3 separate regions of the Homo sapiens genome follow, and all the other regions are linked to region 3. The links are contacts of gene promoters, found by promoter capture Hi-C in human tissues and cell types (Jung and others, 2019). All regions are on one chromosome and are shown on one strand. The core of a region is centred on a gene start or on the middle of the fragment in contact, and the rest is flanking DNA. Distances in the headings are between cores, read along the strand shown. Region 1 overlaps TANC1 (tetratricopeptide repeat, ankyrin repeat and coiled-coil containing 1). Region 2 overlaps TANC1 (tetratricopeptide repeat, ankyrin repeat and coiled-coil containing 1). Region 3 holds the start of TANC1 (tetratricopeptide repeat, ankyrin repeat and coiled-coil containing 1).

Region 1 (2,700 bases), core at 73-2,572, 240 kb after region 3:
TATTGTCAAAGCTACTATTTGCCTCTGTTCAGATGGGCCAGATTTTCTCCGCTGTGAATTGAATGGGCTATTTAGCTGCGTCGTAGGCCTCCCTTTGTGTAGCGCATTGAAGCAATTCCACTTGGCATGTGTGCTCACCGTAGTTTACTGTTCACTAATTCTGGATGGAATTTTGGACAGAACCTGCTCCCTCTGGATCTTGAGCCTCAGGCAGTGCCCTGCAGCTGGGGTGGGTGTTTCCAGGCCCCTCTTGGGGGTGGGGTCCTCACACCTGTTTCCAAATTGGGCTGCGAAGCTGGGTCCTGTTGTATTTGACACTTTGATGATTTTCGTTTCCCTCTTGTTTCCATGGGACTGCTTTCCTTTCCCCTTTTGTGGCTCTTTTGGCTTCAGTCACAGGGAGGCCCCAGGCGTGGACGGTGGGCTTCCCACATCCAAGGCTGCCCCAGAGCACAGGGAGCTGGATGCCTAATTACTGTTGGTGTAAAAATGACCCGTTCTTCATTTGAATTTACCTTAGGCATTTTGGAGAGAGAAGGGGCTGTTCTTTGGTAAGAATGTAAAATAAATGTCAGGCCTACTGGATTGAGCCTTGCAGTCACATATACAGCCATCCCCCACATAATGATGTTTCTGTCAGCGATGGACTGCATGTGAGAAGGTGTTCCCATACAATACTGTGTCTTTATTTTTTCTATGTTGCTACTTTTTCTATGTTTTGTTACACAAGTACCACCGTGTTACAGCTGCCTACAGTATCCACTACAGTAACAGGCTGTACAGCTTAGCAGTTTAGGAGCAAAAGGCTGTACCATATAGTCTAGGCATGTAGTAGGCTACACCATCGAAGTTTGTGTAAGTCCACTATGTGGTATTAGCACAATGATACAATCACCTAACGACTCATTTCTCAGGATGCATCCCTGTCATTGATGATGTGTGGCCTTTCTCAGGAAGTATCCACCTCATTAGGTGATGCATGCACATCTCAGGACAGAATTTCAGGTGAGAGATTGGAAGGAAAGCGTTTGCCCATGGCTTGTTGGGGCATGTGGAGAATATGTGTTACATGGAACGCACATGGAGGATGCTGTAGAGAAAACTGCGACTTGCTGTCGTACACTGAAGATACTGGATTTTTCAGAGGTCCTGAGCATCTCACCAGTACTGGTTTTGGAAATTTTTTATCAAGGCATTCCTTCCTCTGCAAGTGTTTGTTCTAAGAAGGTTCAGTAAGATTAGTGGGCATGGAAGTCCAGACTGCTGTCAGTCAGAACTATCCTCGGCAAAGCAACACGATGGGGAGTAAGCCAGTACCCTCAAGGGTGCGTGGGAGGGACCACCCAGGATCCTGAAAGGAGCAAGATGGGGTGGGGTGACCCTGTGCCCTGTAAGGGGAGGGACAAAGTGGGGTTACCAACATGGAAGGGGTAACAGGGCTCTGGATGGAGGAGGATGTGTATGGGGGTCCTCCAAACAGTGGAGGCAGATAGGGGATCAGAACTGAGGGGGCTGGGTTTGTCCATACCCTATCCTCCTGGTCTCACAGACCCCTGGGTTTTGCCCCTGATGTGGGTGGGTTCCGGAGACCACTCCTCTCTGCGAAGAAGGCAGAGGGGTCAGGTCAGCATGTCCCCGCCCTGTAGGGCAGGCTGAGTGGCCAGCAGTGAGCAGGTAGAAACCCAGGGGTGGTGTCTCAAGCACGAACAAATTAGCCCCTTGACCACCTTCATCAAGCTGTTCTTGCTGTACAGAGTCCATTTTTCTAGTGAGTGATTCCTGAGTATTTAATAAAAAATACTTCTGCCTTCAACAGAAAAATGTATTCATTCATATTTTGGGAAGGATTACACTCCCACAGAAAAATCATCCTTGTTTCTTCTTGAAATGATATTTGGATTCTTTCTGTGTTTTGGGGGCCAGATGTGAGGTTGTGTAAAATGCTTTTGTGGAAATGCCCCCTTTTTACACTGAGACCTCATGTGGTGTCCTGGCATGTAATGAAGTCCTCAGCACAAGCTTAGCCCTTACCGAGAGGAGAGAGAGAACCTTATGCCTGCTTTAAATAACTTGGTGTGTAACCCAGCCTTCCACATGCGAACATTCTCAGCACACTTTAGAAGTGACAGCTGTCCAAAGGTCCGGTCTTCTCATGGATTCTTAGAAGAACAAAGTCTGTATGAAAGATGGCTTATGTTGTTGATCTTTTAGGAAATTATTTTTAAATTGAGGTTACATTATTTATAGCACACACATTATTCCTCAAAGGATTTGAAGAGACTTACTTGAAATGATGCAGATAAGAACTTTAAAACACTAAGTCAGGAATAGGACATGAGGAACCGCTCAAACATTCGTGCCATGGCATACTAAATTGAGCTACTACTGTGGCTGTGGAATGCCATGTGGCCAGAATTAGAGGGGAACACAATCCTTGTAAACCATTTTTATTGTCCATGGGAGAAATCGCAGCAGTTCCTCAGAAAAAGAGAAGCACTTTCTGGTACTTTCATTCTAAACAACTCTCATAGAAGGCTGTTGGATGCTTTAGATATTTTTAAAGGTGACTTCCTGGAGGCAGCATTGTAGGAGCTAAGAACTCAGACTGGCCAGGTCCAGTGGCTCACGCCTGTAATCCCAGCACTTTGGGAGACTGAGGCGGGTGGATCACGAGGTCAGGAGTTCAAGACCAGTCTGGCC
Region 2 (2,700 bases), core at 34-2,533, 170 kb after region 3:
TGGGGACCAAAGTTATGAGATCTATGGGCTACAAATACAGGACCAGACATTTCGGTTTCGCCTGAAATTAAGAAGCAGGGTATGTTTTCATTTTTGTTAAGTGTCTCGGGAGCAGGTGTAGTTCACGTCTGTGGGTGCATGGTCTTGCCTGAAGATAGCCATGATGTTGGTGGATGCCGCAGCAGGGTGAGCTTTCTCTTGGTTGATGAGGAGAGGTGGCTGCCTAACAAAGTCGAACAGGACAATTAGTATAGAATGGTATGTTTTGTAATCCCCATGGAGTCCCTTAAATTTCAATGGGGTTAATTAAGTCTGCCATGTCAAAGTGTAAATTTTATCCAGATCACTGAACCCAAAGGAAATGATAGAGCCGACTAAAACTAATTGAGTTTGAGTGTTAACCCAGGTGTGTACAGATACATGATGGGCAAACCCTCATTTTTAGGGTTTAATATCAGCATCATCACTTAAGTTTTACTTTAAAATGTGGTCTTCTGTTATCTATATTTCCCTTGGACATTCTTGTTTAAGTTTCTAAGACGCTTTTCTGGGTGCTGTCAATAATAGCATGCCAGTATTCACCAGACTAACAGACTCCACTGAAAACAGCTCTTTGTGAAGTGCTTTTGAAATTTCCCATGGACTCGTGAAATAGCAGGTTATTCCTAAATGCTTGAAATACTTTCCTGCCTCACTTTTGCTTTGGTCATGTAGCTCCATCAACTCTTGATTCTTAGCTCTCTGTTTGGATTTTAAATCAAAGGAAAACAAACCAAAGAACATTTTGAATTTGCTTATTTATAAGTAATTGCATTTATGTGTGATGCACGTTTTAGCCTTCTGGGAAGTGTGGGTTCGATGATGTAAGAAGATGAATTTTTTTTTGTAAGCAAATAACTTGTTTCTTAAAGCTTGCAAGCTGGGGACTGTAGCTCACACCTGTAATTCCAGTGATTCAGGGGGCCGAGGTGGGAGGATTGCTTGAGACTGGGAGTTTGAGAACAGCCTGAGCAGCATAGTGAGACCTTGTCTCTTTAAAAAAGAAAGGAAGGAAAGGAAGGAGTTTGCACTCACCTGGAAACATCTTTAGGAAAAAACATTCTATCTTAGTATGTTTAAATATATTTGAAACACAGCATTTTCTACTCTAGGAAAAACGGATGACTTAATAAAATCATCAAACAAAATACAAAGCCCATTTTCATGTCAAATGGTCCTAATAAGCTGTGTGTCAGGTAGAATAAGTTCTTAATGAGTAAGCTTCCTATTGCTAAATCAACATATCGTTTAGGGGAAAGCTCATTTACCCACAAACAATATCTGCGTTAAGGGAAAAAAAACCTTCAGATAAATTAGAGATGATTGTTATAACAGGATCCACGCTTTATTTCTTTGATTTAGGGGTAACCATAATTTATTTAGGTTTGCATTAATATATTTCTAGCTACTAGGGCAAGTTTTGAGGAGGGGCTAGAAAGTTTTTAGTCTCATAAGTCATTGCTCTGTGAAGATCAATCTCAAAATATGATGAAACTTTTTTTAAATGATATCTTCATGTCAGTCAGTGACGAAACTTTTTTCCTGGCAGTCTGACTAAGCAAATAAAGCTAACACATATGAAAGAGCAGAATAATTCAATGTGAAACTATCTTCTGGGAGGAGAGGGTCTTTAGTTATATGCTTAAGTAAATATTTTGATACCTTATGTTTTTTATTACCATTTTAGATGGTCAGACAGGTATAGAGGATTAAAGAGGTATAAAGCATAAAGGGGCTGGGTGTGGTGGCTCGCCCTTATAATCCCAGCACTTTGGGAGGCCAAGGCAGGAGAATTGCTTGAGCCTAGGAGTTTGATACCAGCCTGGACAATGTAGCAAGGCCTCATATCAACAAAAAGTCAAAAAATTAGCCAGATATAGCAGTGCACCTCTCTGGTCCCAGCTACTCAGGATGCTGAGGTGGGAGGATTCTTTAGCCAGGGAGGTGGAAGCTGCAGTGAGCCATGATCACACCATTACACTGCAGCCTGGGAGACAGAGTGAGACCCTGTCTCAAAAAAAAAAAAGTGAAAAAAAGAATATGATTGAAAAAAATGCATAGTCATGTTTTATTTCTTAAAACCCTTTCTTTCCCAAGAGGTAACCTTGATCCTGCTTTAATTTTCAGCTTCTTAGAATGGCAGTGCAACATTCAACCAATGGTTGAATGAGGTTTTATTTGATGGAAGTATAGAAAAGGGGCATACCTGGTATGTGTGCACAGAAGAGAGACTCTTGGAAGTAGAGTATCCATTCATTCTGCATTTCCTTGAATAAGTATTCAGTTTCTATGCTGTGAAAAAACACTATGCTAAATGCTATTTGAGATGGGTTATCAAGCATGGGTCCTGTCTTTATGGAGCCTTAGAGTCTGGCAGGGGATTAGAGACCTGTATATGGCGTGACTGTAATAAAGGAGGAAGTAATGACTAATCCAAGCTGTGTGATGAACTAGGAGTTCAGCAGATGGAGATTCTCTATTTTTTTTTTTTTTTTTTTTTGAGATGGAGCTTCATTCTTGTTGCCCAGACTGGAGTGCAGTGGCACAGTCTCGGCTCACTGCAACCTCTGCCTCCTGGGTTCAAGCGATTCTTTTGCCTCAGCCTCCCGAGTAGCTGGGATTACAGGCACCCACCGCCACACCCGGCTAATTTTTGTATTT
Region 3 (2,700 bases), core at 187-2,686:
TCCTGCCTTGTTTCGGGAATACTTCAAGGCCGCTGATGTGTTTACTGCTCAAATATCAACACAGCAGTAATCAGGCCTTTGAAACTATGGGTGAAAAATCCAGTCCATTTCAGTCTTTTTAATTTATGAAAAGAGATTGTGTGGCATTTTGCTTCCTGTCCCTTTTCATAAGAACTTTAAATATGGACACCCCTCCTGCTGGTGTCTTTATATAGGGAAGCTCTGCGTGAGGTTGAAGTTTTTATGAGGAAACTTGTTTAAAACACAATCGTATTTTAAGGCGGGTTTGCCACAGCAAGGTTAGGGGTTACCAATAAATCGGTTTACAGCAACTTCTCTATTCTCTGCTCCAGACACACCAATGGGGTGACCCGTGCACAATTCCCGCTGGCCACACAAGGCAGCGGCAGTTCTAGTTGATCCTTCCTTCGTCAACTAGATCAACGAAGGCTGTCTTAGAGAGCTTCGGGTATTAAGTGAGCAGAGTCCCTTAGGCCAATTTGGCTGCCTGGGATTCCTGGGAGGATCTTGGAGAACCCAGGACACCCGAATCCCTAGTCCCTATCCTGGTTTTTGCTCTGCTGGAGAATAACAAAACATTTTGGGAACTCAGGAGTTTAATTTACTGCCACCAACCGACAAAATAATAGCATCTTTGTGTGTTCTCTCCCCTCCGTCCCTCCCACCTCCTTCCGACAGAAGCACGACGCTGGCCCTCTGTGAATGTAGCGCAGACAGCACGGGCCAGCCCGGAGCGGTCGCAGGAGGCTCCAGACCCGCGGCCCCAGGGACGCCCGGGAAATCACCGGCCCCAGAACGTCCCCCATTCCTTTTGGGAAATAAAAAGACGCAGCCGGTGAGATGCCTTCTTAGACCTTCCAGCTCATTTAGCTGATTCTGGCCCCAGAAAGTGTGTTTGTGTTTGTGTGTAGTTAAGTGAGGCAGAGAAAATCCAAGAAAGCCGCACAAGCCACCCCAAAGCGTCCACGGAAACTCCAGCTCGGTTAATTGCTCCCATATGTCCTCCTCGGCTGTGGTAAAAAAGCAGCGAGGAGGGAAGGCCGGGTCGCTTTATTGATTTTGAAGAGGCTGTAAAAAAGACTATGGCCCATCTCATTTTGGTCCCAGAGGGGCCTAGGCGCAGCCCCGGGGGACCCGGTGCCCAGAGGGATGGTAGGGTGCTTCAGGCCCGGACCTGGCGCCGAGAGGCGGGACAAGGGGACCTCGCGCCCAAGCCCCGCGGAAAGTTCGCGCTCCGCGCTCCAGCCGGTCCCTGGATCCGCCGCAGCCCGGGGCGGGGAGGGGCGCGGGAGGCGCGGCCGGGGCGGGCGCGCGAGAGGAAGGTGCCTTCGGGAACACGCGCAAGGGCGGGGATTCGCGCTGCCAATGAGGCCCCGGTGTGGGCCGAGCAAGGCGGGGGGACGGGCCGGAGCGGAGGCTTTGCTGTGGCAGCTGCTGGAGCGGCGGCCGCCTCGGGAGCCGGAGGAGAGGCAGCCGCGGAGCGCCGAGCTGGCCTCGCCCCGAGGCCCGGCCCTGGGTGTGGGGAACCGCGCTGAGGAGCTGGAAACTTTCCCGGCAGGTAACTCCCGCAGCCCGGACTCCGCCGCGGGCCTGCGAGCGCCCCGGGCATGGCCAGCTGCCAGTGTGCGGAGAGGTCGAGAGGGACCCGGGGTGGAGAGGGTGATGGGAGAAGGGAAAGGCGTGTGGGAAAGTTTCTGGAGCGCCCCCTCCTCCGCCGGGCACACCCGGGAGCTTTCCGGGAATAGGCACAGACATGTTGGGCGCCCCGGGCCTTGGTCTCTCGGCGGCTTTGGGGAGTCCGCACCTTCCTTGCGCGGTTCCCCCGCGCCGGACCGAGCCGGCCTCCCCTGGAACCGGTGTGGTGGGAACCGGGAACGCTTGGGGCACGCTCGAGTTCTGGGACCACCCCCGCCCGGCGCGCCCGCTCGCCCCCTTTCCCGCCTTCTCTGTAGCCCTCGGGCTTGGCAAGGGCCTGGGCTACGCCTGGTACCTGGCGCGGGGGAGGCGGGGGGAGGCGCGCCTGGCACCGCGGGGTCCTGGGCGCCCCCCGGAGTGTTGGGGTGCGCGGGTCGCGAAGTTGCCGAGAGAACTTAAGCCGGAGGCATGGTATTGCCCCAGTCTGGGCTGAAAGTCTATTGCTTTGCTTCCAAGAACACTGCGATTAGCATATCCACACTCCTTTATTGGGGGTGGGGGTGAGTTAGGATTAGACGTTGGGGGTTTTTCTTTAGGGGTGGGGCGCTGAGAAGAGCGGTAATTGTCAAGATTGTGAGCCCCCTTGTTCTTGGATGCAGAGTGGTCATTTTCGGGGGACGATATCAGGGCACTGGCTTCCTGGAGGACTTTGGGGTGCGGGCGCGCAGCGCTGTGGGTGTGCGGGGCTCCCGGCTTTGGCGCGGCGGCTTTCCGGAACGCCTGGCTGGGAAGGAAGCTCTAGGCATTGTGTGGTGTGTTTGCAGACAGAAAGGTCCCTGGACCGGTGTTCTCAAAACTTACTGGACTTATTGTGTAAAGCTCCGGGAGGAAATGTGGCGTTGGCCAGGTAGAAACGCGGCGCTGCGGCCAAGGGGCGGAGGACGCCAGGCTCGGCAACGGCCTTCTCCCAGCCCCCTCCTGCCAGCTCCAGATCCGCGTGCCTCCAGTGTTGGGACCGTTCTCAGTGGCGTTGTTCCCTGCTGG

What was found. The method cuts DNA at HindIII sites, captures the fragments that hold promoters and counts their contacts. A contact is called where the count stands out against the background at its distance.
Region 1: a fragment that was not itself captured here is called in contact with the fragment with the promoter of TANC1 in region 3 in 1 of the 25 tissues and cell types used here (IMR-90 fibroblasts).
Region 2: a fragment that was not itself captured here is called in contact with the fragment with the promoter of TANC1 in region 3 in 1 of the 25 tissues and cell types used here (bladder).

What each region holds. Positions count from the first base shown.
Region 1 is chr2:159,204,813-159,207,512 of GRCh38, forward strand. All of the region lies in intron 19 of TANC1 (tetratricopeptide repeat, ankyrin repeat and coiled-coil containing 1), which reads left to right. Among named protein-coding and RNA genes, the nearest start is that of MIR6888, 19 kb to the left of the region's middle. The HindIII fragment of the contact is 3,711 bases long and covers 1-2,700 here.
Region 2 is chr2:159,138,169-159,140,868 of GRCh38, forward strand. The region is part of intron 5 of TANC1 (tetratricopeptide repeat, ankyrin repeat and coiled-coil containing 1); the gene reads left to right. Among named protein-coding and RNA genes, the nearest start is that of MIR6888, 47 kb to the right of the region's middle. RefSeq lists an enhancer at 1,537-1,706. The HindIII fragment of the contact is 4,580 bases long and covers 1-2,700 here.
Region 3 is chr2:158,967,204-158,969,903 of GRCh38, forward strand. It overlaps TANC1 (tetratricopeptide repeat, ankyrin repeat and coiled-coil containing 1), which reads left to right and starts at 1,437. Exons shown (of 27, transcript NM_033394.3): 1 at 1,437-1,579. RefSeq lists silencers at 1,223-1,332, 1,393-1,472. The HindIII fragment of the contact is 16,038 bases long and covers 1-2,700 here.